Regions from separate parts of the Homo sapiens genome. Here region 1 is linked to region 2. Evidence: promoter capture Hi-C in 16 types of primary human blood cells and fetal thymus (Javierre and others, 2016). All regions are on one chromosome and are shown on one strand. Each heading gives the region's core, a stretch centred on a gene start or on the middle of the fragment in contact. The rest is flanking DNA. Distances are from core to core; before and after follow the strand shown.

Region 1 (7,638 bases), core at 3,709-6,208, 640 kb after region 2:
TAGATTCCTATTACTCCAGGTGGCACCTAGGTTGGCTAGTGTAATAAAGCAGACGGTGGGCCAGGCGTGGTAGCTCACGGCTGTAATCCCAGCACTTTGGGAGGCCGAGGTGGGCGGATCACCTGAGCTCAGGAGTTCCAGACAAGCCTGACTAACATGGAGAAACCCTGTCTCTACTAAAAATACAAAAATTAGCCGGGCGTGGTGGCACGTGGCTGTATTCCCAGCTACTCAGGAGGCTGAGGCAGGAGAATCGCTTGAACCTCGGAGGTGGAGGTTGCGGTGAGCCAAGATCACGCCATTGCACTCCAGCCTGAGCGACAAGAGCAAGACTCCATCTCAAAAAACAAAACAAAATAAAATAAAATAAAGCAAACGGTGAGCCGGGGAGTGGCTGAGAGGAGACAACTTATCCTTTTCCTTCCTAACTCACACACAAGCGCAGGTCAGATTAAGCACTGCCAAAGCTGGGGCCAATGATTCTCAAACTTTATTGTGCATCAGAGCCATGAAGTGTTGTTAAAACACACATTTCTGGGCCGGGCTTGGTGGCTCACACCTGTAATCCTGGCACTTTGGGAGGCCGAGGCAGGTGGATCACCTGAGGACAGGAGATCAAGACCAGCCTGGCCAATACGGTGAAACCCCATCTCTACTAAAAGTACAAAAATTAGCCAGGTGTGGTGGTGCATACTTATAATCCCAGCTACTCGGGAGGCTGAGGCAGGAGAATCACTTGAACCCAGGAGGCGGAGGTTGTGGTGAGCTGAGATGGCACCACTGCACCCCAGCCTGGGCGACAGAGTGGACTCCATCTCAAAAAACAACAGCCACCAAACCAAACAAAACAAAACAAAAAAGCCACAACACATTTCTGAGCTCCAACTCCAGAGTTTCTGATTTAGAAGATCTGTGGGTGGGGCCTAAGAATTTTCATTTCTAACAAGTCCCCAGGTGATGCTAATGCTGCTGGTTTAGAGACCACACTTTGAGAACCATTGGCCTATGCTATTGGTTTTCAACCATGGCTGTAGGTCAGAATTACCTGGAAAGTTAAAAGCAAAACAATCCACGTCCAGATCTTTTTTCAGATCAATTTCAACAGAGTCTATGTGGGAGGCACCAGACAGCCATGATTTTAGACCCCAGGTGATTCCAATGTGCAGTCAAGTGTAGGGGTGGGTTGCCCCTCCACACCTGTGGGTGTTTCTCGTAAGGTGGAACGAGAGACTTAGGAAAGAAAAAGACACAGAGACAAAGTATAGAGAAAGAAATAAGGGGACCCAGGGAACCAGCGTTCAGCATATGGAGGATCCCGCCAGCCTCTGAGTTCCCTTAGTATTTATTGATCATTTGTGGGTGTTTCTCGAAGAGGGGGATGTGTCAGGGTCACAAGACAATTGTGGGGAGAGGGTCAGCAGACAAACACGTGAACAAAGGTCTTTGCATCATAGACAATGTAAAGGATTAAGTGCTGTGCTTTTAGATATGCATACACATAAACATCTCAATGCTTTACAAAGCAGTATTGCTGCCCGCAGGTCCCACTCCAGCCCTAAGGCAGTTTTTCCCTATCTCAGTAGATGGAGCATACAATCGGGTTTTATACCGAGACATTCCATTGCCCAGGGACAGGCAGGAGACAGATGCCTTCCTCTTGTCTCAACTGCAAGAGGCATTCCTTCCTCTTATACTAATCCTCCTCAGCACAGACCCTTTACGGGTGTCGGGCTGGGGGATGGTCAGGTCTTTCCCTTCCCACGAGGCCATATTTCAGACTACCACATGGGGAGAAACCTTGGACAATACCTGGCTTTCCTAGGCAGAGGTCCCTGCGGCCTTCCGCAGTTTTTGTGTCCCTGGGTACTTGAGATTAGGGAGTGGTGATGACTCTTAAGGAGCATGCTGCCTTCAGGCATCTGTTTAACAAAGCACATCTTGCACCGCCCTTAATCCATTCAACTCTGAGTTGACACAGCACATGTTTCAGAGAGCACGGGGTTGGGGGTAAGGTTATAGATTAACAGAATCTCAAGGCAGAAGAATTTTTCTTAGTACAGAACAAAATGGAGTCTCCTATGTCTACTTCTTTCTACACAGACACAGTAACAATCTGATCTCTCTTGCTTTTCCCCACAGTCAAGGTTGAGAATCACGATTTAGGCTCTTGAGGCAGACACCCATTAATGCAGGTGTACTAGATAAAGCTCAGTAAAACCAAATATCTTCCACCCTTGGTTCTGCGGCAGGATATTTTTGTAGTCTGGGCGTCTTTCCTTGGGATAAATGTAGCTTGCAATGATTTTGATGGAAATGGACTTTTCTTGGATCACGGCTTGGAGAAAGTTTTGAGCAGAGTGAGGAAGGTTGCAATGGCAACCGTGGAAAATGGTAGACAAGCTGAGTAGGGAAACAGAAAGTGATTTCTGGGCCTGTGGAAAGCAGAGACCATAAGATTACCTTAGGACTCTTAAACAAAATATATTTTTCCCACTCACCATTAGCCGCATGGGCAAGGAAAACAGATTTTTTTTTTTTTGACATAGAATCTCGCTCTGTGGCCCAGGCTGGAGTGCAGTGGCGTGATCTTGGCTCACGGCAACCTCTGCCTCCCAGGTTCAAGCGATTCTCCTGCCTCAGCCTCCCGAGTAGCTGGGATTACGGGTGCGAGCCACCACATCTGACTAATTTTTGTAGTTTTTTTTTTTTTTTTTTGAGATGGAGTCTTACTCTGTCGCCCAGGCGAGAGTGCAGTGGCGTGATCTCAGCTCACTGTAACCTCCGCCTCCCAGGTTCAGGTGATTCTTCTGCCTCAGCCTCTCGAGTAGCTGGGACTACAGGCATGCACCACCATGCCTGGCTAATTTTTGTATTTTTAGTAGAGACAGGGTTTCACCATATTGGCCAGGCTGGTCTCGAACTCCTGACCTTGTGATCCTCCCGCCTTCGCCTCCCAAAGTGCTGGGATTACAGGTGTGAGCCACCGCACCTGGCCCTAATTTTTGTACTTTTAATAGAGATGGGTTTCACCATTTTGGCCAGGCTGGTTTCGAACTCCTGACCTTGTGATCTGTCTGCCTCAGCCTCCCAAAGTACTGGGATCACATGCATGAGCCACCACGCCCGGCCGGAAAATAGATATTCTGATTGAATCAGAGTTAACAAACTTCCCATGCAGTTGCAGACAGTAGGGCAAGGGAGTTAAGGATTTTAGTACCAGAGTGGCTAAAGTGATGGACCCTAGAGTCTAGGGCCTAATGGCAATGATGAATTCAAGAGAAAGTTTTCTTTCTGCTAGATTGTGTGTGGCATACAAACACAATATTCCCTTCTAAGGGTGGTCACTCCTTTCCCTATTTCATAGGATTATGGTGAGGCAAACACAGAAGCCCGCCGTCATCCTTGCGGGAAGGCAGGTGACCAGGCTTGGTAAATCACACGGTCCTTTCCCCCTTGATTGGTCCATGGTTGAGCACCAGACCCAAACAGGGCTAATCATAGTCCTTTGTAACTGATATTTGGGAAGGATAGTGTACTCTGAGGCAACATTATATAGAATGAAAGTCTTCAATGTGGTGATCTTGGAACTGACACCTAAAAACAAACTGGCTGGCTGGACGCGGTAGCTCACGCCTGTAATCCCAGCACTTTGGGAGGCCAAGGTGGGCCTAAGGTCTGACCTAAGGTCAGAAGTTCGAGACCAGCCTGACCAACATGGTGAAACCCCGTCTCTACTAAAAATACAAAAATTAGCCGGGCGTGGTGGCTGGCACTTGTAATCCCAGCTACTCTGGAGGCTGAGGCTGGAGAATCGCTTGAACCCGGGAGGTGGAGGTTGCAGTGAGCAGAGATCGTGCCATTGCACTCCAGCCTTGGCGACAAGAGCGAAACTCCGCCTCAAAAAACAAACAAAAACAAGCTGGAGGCCGGGCGCGGTGGCTCATGTCTGTAATCCCAGCACTTTGGGAGGCCGAGGCGGCCGGATCACCTGAGGTCGGGAGTTCGAGACCAGCCTGACCAAAATGGAGAAAACCCGTCTCTACCTAAAATACAAAATTAGCCGGGCGTGGTGGCACATGCTTGTAATCCCAGTTACTCGGGGAGGCTGAAGTAGGAGAATCGCTTGAATCCGGGAGGCGGAGGTTGCGGTGAGCGGAGATGGCGCCATCGCACTCCAGCCTGGACAACAAGAGCGAAACTCCATCTCAAAAAACAAACAAACAAGAAAACAAGCTGGCTGTGCAAAATTACAGAGGAAGTAACAAGGAAAGGTTCTGAGGTGAGAATGGGCCAAGCTTGCTCAGGGAACCCAGGAAGGCTAGCTGCAGAATGCTGTTTCCGTGGCCTCGGCAGCTTAACCTAGGCCTTTACTCTTAACCTTGGTAATTCCCACGCAATCTTGAGATTTCAGGCCAAACGTCACTCCTGCAAGCCCTTCCGGAACTCAAAGCATGTCTCCCTTCGCTCCCGCCGAGGAGAGACCTGTTCCCAGGATCTGCAGCCCTGTGCTTATCAGACCCACGGAGTCTGTGGAAAGGAAGGATGGGATAAGAACGATGCGGGTTGGGAGAGTTAAAAGGGTCGCGCAAACGGTCCCCGCGGGAATGCGAAGCGGATTCTCGAGTTCTTGAGCCTAGAGCAATGCTTGGGGAGCGACACGAGGGCGCAGAGCGGCAGATCGCGGAGCGGAAGTTCATCCCCGGAGCCGTTCTAGGAAACCCGGAGGACTCAGGTCGTCAATGATTCCGGGGCTGAAGTGGGCATCGACGGGTGCACTTTGCTGTTCCAGGGAGCCGGCTCGGCAGGCGGCGGCGACGTGGAACTTGGGCTAGGGCTAGAACCGGCGAAAAGCAAGCCGGAAAAGGCAAGGGGGCGTCGGTGCGCTGACCACCTGTTCCTCCAGCGGAGTGCGACGCGCGCCGATTGGCTGGAGTGCCGCCCGGGTACCGGAAGTGGCCGATGCCCGTCGCCAGTGACACCGGGACAACAGCTGCGGGCTCTGTGCGAGCGGCCCAGCAGCGCGGAGCCTCAGCGGAGTGAGCGAGCGCGGGGCAGTAGCGGCCTGCGGTGAGACCTCATTCCGTCGCGGCTGTGGGGGTAGGCGGGGGCTGGGCTCCCAGCTCCCTAGAGAGCCGAGCGGAAACCCTACGTTTAGGCCCGTTCTGACCGGGGTTCGCTGTGTGACCTTGAAGTTTATGCCTCCCTCCATTCCCCCCGCCCCCAGGCCTTCATTTCCACCTGCACACAGAGAGGGTGGGGCCTGGACACCGCCAGGGACAGTCCCAGCTCTGGTTTGGTGCCTGTCAGCCGTGGGGGTGGGAGAAGCAGGGACACTCCCTTCTGTACCGAGGTGGGGACCCGTGGGAGCTGTGGTTTTCTCAGACATTCCACCCCCAAGTAAACCGCTAGGACGAAATGGCGGGCAGTGTCACAAACTTAACGCCCTAGTGGCAGATTGTGCCCTGTGCTGCCAGACAAGATATTGGCTTATGAGGGGTGGTCGTGAAAAGGAGACAGGTTTGAGCTGCAAAGATAGAGCCCTATTGTGGGTCAGAGGGAGAAGAGAGGAAAGGAGGTTAACAGTGCCATAAATTAAATATCACCCAGATTGGGAAAAGGAACTTATTTTTACAAACAGTTATCGACACCAGCTATGTGTCAGACACTATCCTAGGCTCTTTAGATATAATGATGAATGAAATATCCAGTTAGCCATCAAGAGTATTACAGAGGCTGGGTGCAGTGGCTCATGCCTGTAATCCCAGCATTTTGGGAGGCCTAGGCGGGAGGATCACTTGAGCACAGGAGTTCAAGACCAGCCTGGGCAACATAGTGAGACACCATCTGTACAAAAAACAAAGAAATTAGTTGGGTAGTTGGGTGTGGTGGCGCATGCTTGTAGTCCCAGCTACTTGGGAGGCTGAGGTGGGAGGATTTTCTTGAGCCTGGGAAGTTGAAGCTGCAGTGAGTCTGGGCAATAGAGCCAAGACCCTGTCTCAGAAAAAAGGGAGGTATTGCAGATTCATTATATATATAAGACAGTTACACAAATTCACTTAACATTTACCAGGTATCTGAAATATGCTAGGTACTCAGAATACCAGGATGAATGGAACAGCATCCTTGCTTATGGTCTAGAGAAGAAAATAGGTATGAAAAATTAATAATGCAGTGGGGTAGCTGCTACAAGGTGAAGGAGTAGCTGTCTGCCTTAGAGCCTGGGGGTCAGGGAAGAAAATGGAGGGGGTCAGCTGGGCGTGATGGCTCATGCCTGTAATCCCAGCACTTTGGGAGGCAAAGGTGGGCGGATCACCTGAGGTCAGGAGCTCGAGACCAGCCTGGCCAACATGGTGAAACCCTGTCTCTACTAGAAATACAAAATTAGCCAGGCGTGGTGGCAGATGCCTGTAATACCAGCTGCTTGGGAGGCTGAGGTGGGAGAATCGCCTGAGCCTGGGAGGCGGAGGTTGCGGTGAGCCAAGATTGCGCCATTGCACTCCAGCCTGGGAGACAGAGCGAGGCTCCATCTCCAAAGAAAAAAAAAAAAATAGGTATCGTGGTTTCAGGACTGATTAATCCAGTGGCCCTGGCAGCATCTCCCTTGTTTTTCTGAGCTTTAGCTGCCCTCATCCACAGGCTGGTAGTGAGATGGCAGCAGCAGGTACAGGCAATAATATATGGAAGTATTTTCCTATGGTTCTCTCAGGATGGCAGGAAACTATTCCCAGAAGCTCCCAGCAAACGTCCTCAAAATATTGACCCAGATGAAGGTGGATGTCCATTTCCAAACCAGGAATTCCCGAATCCTTGCTGTTTCTGAACCAGTGCCTTGCAAGAATTAGGGCATTTATTTGACTGGGTTAACTCAGTTGGAGTGTCCTGCTGGAGCTCTTGGATGAGGTTAGATCTCTGGCAAGGAAAGCAAAGCCACTGCAAATATTTTTGCTCACATACCCCGTAAAATAATTTTGGAAGGTTTGTGTCTCTTTATACATTTGCAAGTTGACATCCAAAACATTTCCATTTCTCATCATAAATTTTAATGAGTTTCAAAGGATATTATTTTTGAGGTATTAAAATTTCGACATTTCAAAATAAAACCTCATCCCAGTTTCCCAGATACCTTCCCTTGGTTACCTTCCCTTGGAGCACAAAGAAGGTGCTCATCACATCCTTCACCCTCTCTGTAACCTCCATCTCTTAGCACCCCACTCCTCCCAGCCCCCCTTCATTTCCATCCGTATCTCACTTAGTCATCTCAGCTCTGTCCTGACTAACCTCCCTAGGCCTCGCCTCCTCAGTCTTCCACCACACATCTCCCTGGATTCTCAGGCTGCCAAAACTGCCACTGAAAGAAGTCAGGAGAGCATGGTGATTGGCCCCTCTTCACTCTGATGCTCTCCAGCTTGCTTGTTTCATGAGGTGGTGGTAAGGGTTAATGTCTGTAAGTTGCTTAGCACATGGTGAGAGCTTATCATTAGCCTCCACATCAAAATGTCAGTGCTGCCTGGCTCATCTCCCCTCCATATTTATCCCACCCCGTGCATGCTACATTGAAATCCCAATGTTTTTTCTGTTTCTGTTCTTTTTTTTTTTTTTTCTTTTTTGAGATGGAGTCTCACTCTGCACTGGAGTGCA
Region 2 (6,761 bases), core at 1,038-3,537:
CGGCTCTTCACCCATTTTTAAATTGGTTTGTCATTTTATGCTTTAACTTTTTGTTTAGATATAATTTATAACTTATAGAAAGTTTATCATATAGCGTAAAGAAACTCTTATAATCTTTACCCAGATTCATCTATTATTAATATTTGCCCCATTTGTTTTCTTACTATACATATCTAATATTTTTTCCTGAACCGTTTGAGAATGAGTGGCATAAATCATGGCCCTGTACCTCTAGATACTTCAGATAAGGATATTTACTTATTTACTTACATAACCATAGTTCACAGATGCTGATATGCTATTTCTTCCTGATCCAGTTTTATCAGTTGATCCAGTACAGGAGCGAGGTTGGGATCCTGTACTGCTCTTAATTGTCTTATTGTCTTGTCTCTCTTTTTTTTTTTTTTTTTTTTGAGACGGAGTCTTGTTCTGTCACCCAGGCTAGAGTGCAGTGGCACGATCTTGGCTCACTGCAACCTCTGCCTCCCGGGTTCACATGATTCTCCTGCCTCAGCCTCCTGAGTAGCTGGGACTACAGGTGCACACCACCACACCCAGCTACTTTTTTGTGTATTTTTAGTAGAGACAGGGTTTCACTATGTTGGCCAGACTGGTCTCGAACTCCTGACCTCGTGATCCGCCCGCCTGGGCCTCCCAAAGTGCTGGGATTACAGGCATGAGCCACCGCGCCTGGCCTATCTTGTCTCTTTGTTGCTTTTAATCCAAAACAGTCCCTCAGAATATTTTTTTTTTTTCGAGACAGAGTTTTGCTCTTGTTGCCCAGGCTGGAGTGTAATGGCGTGATCTTGGCTCACCACAACCTGTGCCTCCCGGGTTCAAGCAATTCTCCTGCCTCAGCCTCCCGAGTAGCTGAGATTACAGGCACCTGCCACCATGCCTAGTTAGTTTTGTATTTTTAGTAGAGACGGGGTTTCTCCACATTGGTCAGGCTGATCTTGAACTCCCGACCTCAGGTGATCCACCTGCCTCGGCCTCCCAAAGTGCTGGGATAACAAGCGTGAGCCACCACGCCTAGCTCCCTCAGTCTTTCTTAGTCTTTCATGACTCTGACATTTTTCAATATACAGTCCCTTTAAAGAAATAGTGTTTCTCAATTTGGGCTTGTCTGATGTTTTTTCATTTTAAAAATTAAAAAAAAAATTTTTTTTTTTGAGTTGGGGTCTTGCTTTGTCACCCAGCCTGGAGTGCAGTGGCACGAACATGGCTCACTGCAGCCTCGACTTCCCAGGCTAAGGCGATCCTTCCTACCTCAGCCTCCCAAGTAGCTGGGACTGTGGACGCACACCACTACACCCGGCTATTTTTTTTTAAAATTTTTTATTTTTTTGGTATTTTTGTAGCAATGGGGTTTCACCATGTTGCCCAGGCTGGTCACAAACTTCTGGGCTTGGATGATCCTCCTGTCTTGGCCTCCCAGTGTTAGGATTACAGGTGCGAGCCACCGCGTCTGGCTGATGTCTTCTCATGATGAGATTCCGGTTGTGCCTTCCTGGCTGGAATGCCACATAGATGATGCTGTGACCTGCGAAGACCTTCACATCTGGAGGCACACGACACCCTCCTGCCTCTCACAGGTGATTTATTTTAACCCCTTGGTCAAGATGTCTGATTCCTCTACTGTATAGTTACTCTTTTTCCTTTTGTTACTAATAAGCAATCTATCAAGAGATGCTTCGTGACCGTGCTGACACCCTCCCCCCTCACTGAAGTCTTCCCCCCAGATTTAGCCCCCACTGATGAGTTTTGCACACAGGCTGTCTTCTTGTAGGCAGCCCCCTCTGCTACCTTTGTTTTTCCGGGAAGGACCTTAGATCCTGGGTAGGTGCTCATCCTGCCTGGCAGTCGAGTGCAATGCTGCTGTCCTGGCCAATGCCCAGCCTTCCTCATTTGCCCCGGCTTCAAGGCATTGGTTCACAGTCCCGTACGGGCAGCTAGACCATCTCACAGCAAGCAGCACTCTGGGAGGCTCATCTCATTTCCTGCCCTGGAAGCTTCCCTTCCTCACTGCAGCCACTGAAGCTGCAGGCTAGATCAAGGGGACCACAGAGTTGTCCAGTCCCCAGGGTGGGGGTGCCAGGAGCCCTTGTCCTCCGTAGCAGGTCTCAGAGGCTGACGATGGGGAAATCGCACTGGTGAAGCTGCCGTGGGGTCAGGAGGAACCTGCGATAAGACGCCCAACAGTTAGGGCAGGTGCTTTGAGGTTTGGAGCCTGGGACCCCACAGGAAGTGACTTCGTGCTGAGCTAATGTTGCTTCATCCTGGCGCCAGTCTCAGGCCAAGAGCTGCAGGCTGGCATGGCTGGGGGGATGTCAGCGGAGTGCCCTGAGCCTGGGCCAGGAGGTCTGCAGGGCCAGTCCCCAGGGCCAGGCAGGCAGTGTCCCCCTCCCATCACGCCCACCTCCTGGAGCCTGCCCCCGTGGAGGGCCTACGTGGCTGCCGCCGTCCTCTGCTACATCAACCTCCTGAATTACATGAACTGGTTCATCATTGCAGGTGAGGAGGGGATGGCTACCCTGGGCAGTACCTGCTGCTGTGCCCACCAGCCAGGGGCTGCAGATCCATGGTGGCCTTCCAGCCATCACCCATCTTTCTGCTCCTGGGCCCATCTCTGGTGTTCTCACCTCTAGAGGTGGTTTTCAGCTGTGCTCGAATCGGGGAGGACCAACTGATGTTCCCAATCCAGCCTCAACTAAGAAGGGACACAGGCTGGGCATGGTGGCTCCCGCTTGTAATTCCAGCACTTTGGGAGGCTGAGGCAGGAAGATTGCTTGAGCCCAGGAGTTTGAGACCAACCTGGACAACATAGTGAGACTCTGTCTCTATTTATTTATTTTTTTTTTTGAGACAGAGTCTCGCTCTGTCGCCCAGGCTGGAGTGTAGTGGCGCAATCTCAGCTCACTGCAACCTCTGTCTCCCAGGTTCAAGTGATTCTCCTGCCTCAGCCTCCCGAGTAGCTGGGATTACAGGCGTGCACCACCACATCCGGCTAATTTTTGTATTTTGAGTAGAGGAGGAGTAGGGACGGGGTTTTACCATGCTAGTCAGGCTGGTCTCGAACTCCTGACCTCAGGTGATCCACCCGCCTCGGCCTCCCAAAGTGCTGGGATTACAGGCATGAGCCACCGTGCCCGGCCTTTTTTTTTTTTCTTGAGACAGAGTCTCAATCTGTTGCCCAGGCTGGAGTGCAGTGGCGCGATCTCGGCTCACTGCAACTTCTGCCTCCCAGGTTCAAGCGATTCCTATCTCAGCCTCCCGAGTAGCTGGGACTACAGGCGCATACCACCATGCCAGGCTAGTTTTTGTATTTTTAGTAGAGACGGGGTTTTGCCGTGTATGCCAGGCTGTCTCGAACTCCAGACCTCAGGTGATCCGCCTGCCTCGGCCTCCCAAAGTGTTGGGATTATAGGCATGAGCCCCTGCGCCCAGCCGAAACTCTGTCTCTATTTAAAAAATTAAAAATATTTTAGGGCTGGGTGCGGTGGCTCAGGCCTGTAATCCCAGCACTGTGGGAGGCCAAGGTGGGCGGATCACTTGAAGTGAGGACTTTGTGACCAGCCTGGGCAACATGGTGAAACCCCGTCTCTACTAAAACTACAAAAATTAGCCGAGCATGGTAGCGGGCACCTGTAATCTCAGCTACTGGGGAGGCTGAGGCAGAGAATTGCTTGAACCTGGGAGGTGGATGTTGCAGTGAGCCGAGATCCCACCATTGAGCCAAGATCCCACCATTGCACTCCAGTCTGGGCGACAGAGCAAGGCTCTGTCTCAAAAAAAAAAAAATAAAAAATAAAAAATAAATAAATAAATAAATATTTTTTAAAAATTAAGGGAGGGCACAGTGGGGGTGGGGCCAGAGACATAATGAGGGGTGGGTGGGTGAGGACAGCAGGCAGGACTTCCAGGCAGAGGCCCCCAGGTTCTAGGTGGAGGACAGGGTAGCCTGGGCCAGACAAGAATAGCTCCTGCTGGCTGTGTTTCTAGGACAACAGGCTGCTCGCAAACCTCACACGTCCTGCCTTCCTTCTTGCAGGCTTCAGGGCTCAACCTGCTCTGTCTTCTGTCACTCATTCACTAACTCACTCACTCATTCATTCATTCAAGACTGATCAGGGGCCAGGCGTGGTGGCTCACGCCTGTAATCCCAGCTACTCGGGAGGCTGAGGCAGGACAGTCGCTTGAACCCGGGAGGCGGAGGTTGCGGTGAGCTGAGATCGTGCCACTGCACTCCAGCCTGGGCGACAGAGCGAGACTCCGTCTCAAACAAAGACAACAACAATAACAACAGCTGATTGAGGCTCCACTTGCTCTTCTCTTCTTGTCATTCATTCATTCAAGACCGGCTGAGCACTAACTGTGGGCAGGACCCCCTGCTGGCTGCTGTGGACCCAGGGAGGAAATCGGACTTGGAGTTCCTGAACTCAGGAATGACCATCTCATGGGGCAGAGATAGAGGCTGGTTGATGGCAGTCCTGCGAGGCGGAGAGGTGCGGCCAGACAAGGGGGAGGCACAGGCCGGGCTGGGAGCTCAGGAGGGTGCCTGCAGCTGCCAGGCATCTCTGAGACCTGGGCATCGATCTGTCAGTTACCAGCTCAGCATGCCAGAGAGTGGCTATGGAATCATGAAACTCTAGGGGCTGCAGAGCCATCCCCAGACCTGGTCATCGTCTTTGAGGAGCTCAGAGGTCAGGAGCTTCTCCTCACATGAGGTCAGGAGTTCGAGACCAGCCTGGGTAACATAGAAAAACCTTGTCTCTACAAAAAATTTAAAAAATTAGCCAGGGACAGTGATGTCTTCAGCCTCTCGGGAGGCTGAAGCAGGAGGATTGCTTGAGGCTGAAGCAGGAGGATTGCTTGAGGCTGAAGCGGGAGGATTGCTTGAGGCTGCGGTGAGCCCTCTAGCCTGAGTGACAGAGCAAGATCTTATCTAAACCCCTAAAGACAAAAAGCCAAAACAAAGCAAAACAAAACACATGAAACAAAAAACCCCAAAGGGGTGTATGGGGTGAGAACAGAGCTTCTTGGGTGCCAGACTGGGAGCTTGGACTTTCTGCCTTGGGCAATGGGGAGCCATATAATTGGATTTGAGGCCCTGATGGAGGCAAAATGAGCCAGGGAGTCAGTTCAGAGGCTGCTGTAGTGGATCAGGCCAAAGCTGAGGAGGCCTGAGTTGGAGTGTGGGCCAAGGGCACGCAAAGGCGAGAAGGGGCAAGAGGTGGATGGGAGCCAGGAATCACCAGTGTGGAGCTCTCTGAACCCACGAGCCTGGGGACCCGCTATCTCTGCCGCTAGCCCTGGAGGTCCCTGGCTGGGCCCTAAGACCCTGAGTCTTGCCTGTCCAGGTCCCTTCTCCATCAGCACTTCCTCTGTATGTGCAAGAAAGGGGGCTGTGGTTACTGTGGGGATAGAGACCTGGAGAAGTGAAACCGTGCTGAGCATCTGGGAACTGGTGGGGGTAAACAGCTAAAATGTTCTTGCAGGAAACAGCTCTTATGGGGCCAGGGTGGTAGGCTACAGATGAAAGCAAGGGTGGGTGCACGCTTGGCTCTGGATCACCTCTAGAGTACCATGGGGCTGAGAGGAGCCCAGGAGGAGAGAAAACAAGGGGATGAGTCCTCATTCCTGAAAATGGAAGATGGGCACAATTTGGAGCATTTTCGTTTAGCTATTTATTTTGCTTACCTGTGTTGTCTCCTTTTTTTCTTTCCAATGACTGTCTTCTTTGTGTATTTAAAATAATAAAAGGGGGACTTTGAGAGGCCGAGGCAGGTGGATCACCTGAGATCAGGAGTTCGAGACCAGACTGGCCAAAATGGTGAAACCCCGTCTCTACTAAAAATACAAAAATTAGCCAGGCGTGATGGCGGGCACCTGTAATCCCAGCTACTTGGGAGGCCGAGGCAGGAAAATTGCCTGAACCCAGGAGGCAGAGGTTGCAGTGAGCTGAGATCGTGTCACTGCACTTCAGCCTGGATGAAATAGTGAGATTCAGTCTCAAAAATAAATAAATAAAATAAAAATAAAAAACAAAATATTAAAAGGGGAAAAAGACATAACAGTTTGTATGCCAGGTTGCAGTGGCAATTGGGGACAAATTAAATGTCTAAACAAAGATTTCTTTTTTTTTTTTTTTGGAGACGGAGTCTCACTCTGTCGCCCAGGCTGGAGTGCAGTGGCATGATCTCAGCTCACTGCAACCTCCGCCTCCCAGGTTCAAGCGATTCTCCTGCCTCAGCCTCCTGAGTAGCTGGGACTACAGGCCTGTGCCACAACATCTGGCTAATTTTTTGTATTTTTAAATAGAGATGGGATTTCACTGTGTTAGCCACGATGGTCTTGATCTCCTGACCTCAAGATCTGCCGGCCTCGGCCTCCCAAAGTGCTGGGATTACAGGCGTGAGCCACCACGTCCCTCCCTGAGCAAGGATTTTTTGCTTTGCTCCTCTGATCCCTTGATCTTCATGTGCATGGGGCAGCTCTTAGAGGTGTGCACGCAGGGCTTTCTTGGTGTGGGTGTTTCTGCGGGGACCCACTTGGGGGCTTCTGCTCCCCTTCTGTGGTTCTGGGTGTGTGGACAGGCTGCCTCTGGCTGAGATTTGAGCCCCAGCTCCCCCAGCTTCAGACGGGCAACCTTGGGCCGCTAAAGCCTCTGTTTCCTCATCTGTAGAATGGGGGCAATGACAGTCCCCCTCTTTTAGGATGACAACTGCGAGTGTACAGCTCAGGGCCTGGCTGTCAGTCAC

What was found. The method cuts DNA at HindIII sites, captures the fragments that hold promoters and counts their contacts. A CHiCAGO score of 5 or more calls a contact.
Region 1: a contact is called between the fragment with the promoter of ZFP3 here and the fragment with the promoter of SPNS3 in region 2, in 1 of 17 cell types (neutrophils). The highest score is 5.0, in neutrophils.

Annotation. Positions count from the first base shown.
Region 1 is chr17:5,073,509-5,081,146 of GRCh38, forward strand. ZFP3 (ZFP3 zinc finger protein) reads left to right here and starts at 4,959. Exons shown (of 2, transcript NM_153018.3): 1 at 4,959-5,067. ZFP3-DT (ZFP3 divergent transcript) reads right to left here and starts at 4,605. Exons shown (of 2, transcript NR_186458.1): 1 at 4,379-4,605; 2 at 2,170-2,432. RefSeq lists enhancers at 4,427-5,298, 4,666-4,735. The HindIII fragment of the contact is 11,376 bases long and covers 4,294-7,638 here.
Region 2 is chr17:4,431,653-4,438,413 of GRCh38, forward strand. It overlaps SPNS3 (SPNS lysolipid transporter 3, sphingosine-1-phosphate (putative)), which reads left to right and starts at 2,288. Exons shown (of 12, transcript NM_182538.5): 1 at 2,288-2,514. The coding sequence starts at 2,316. RefSeq lists an enhancer at 2,350-3,004. The HindIII fragment of the contact is 18,293 bases long and covers 2,011-6,761 here.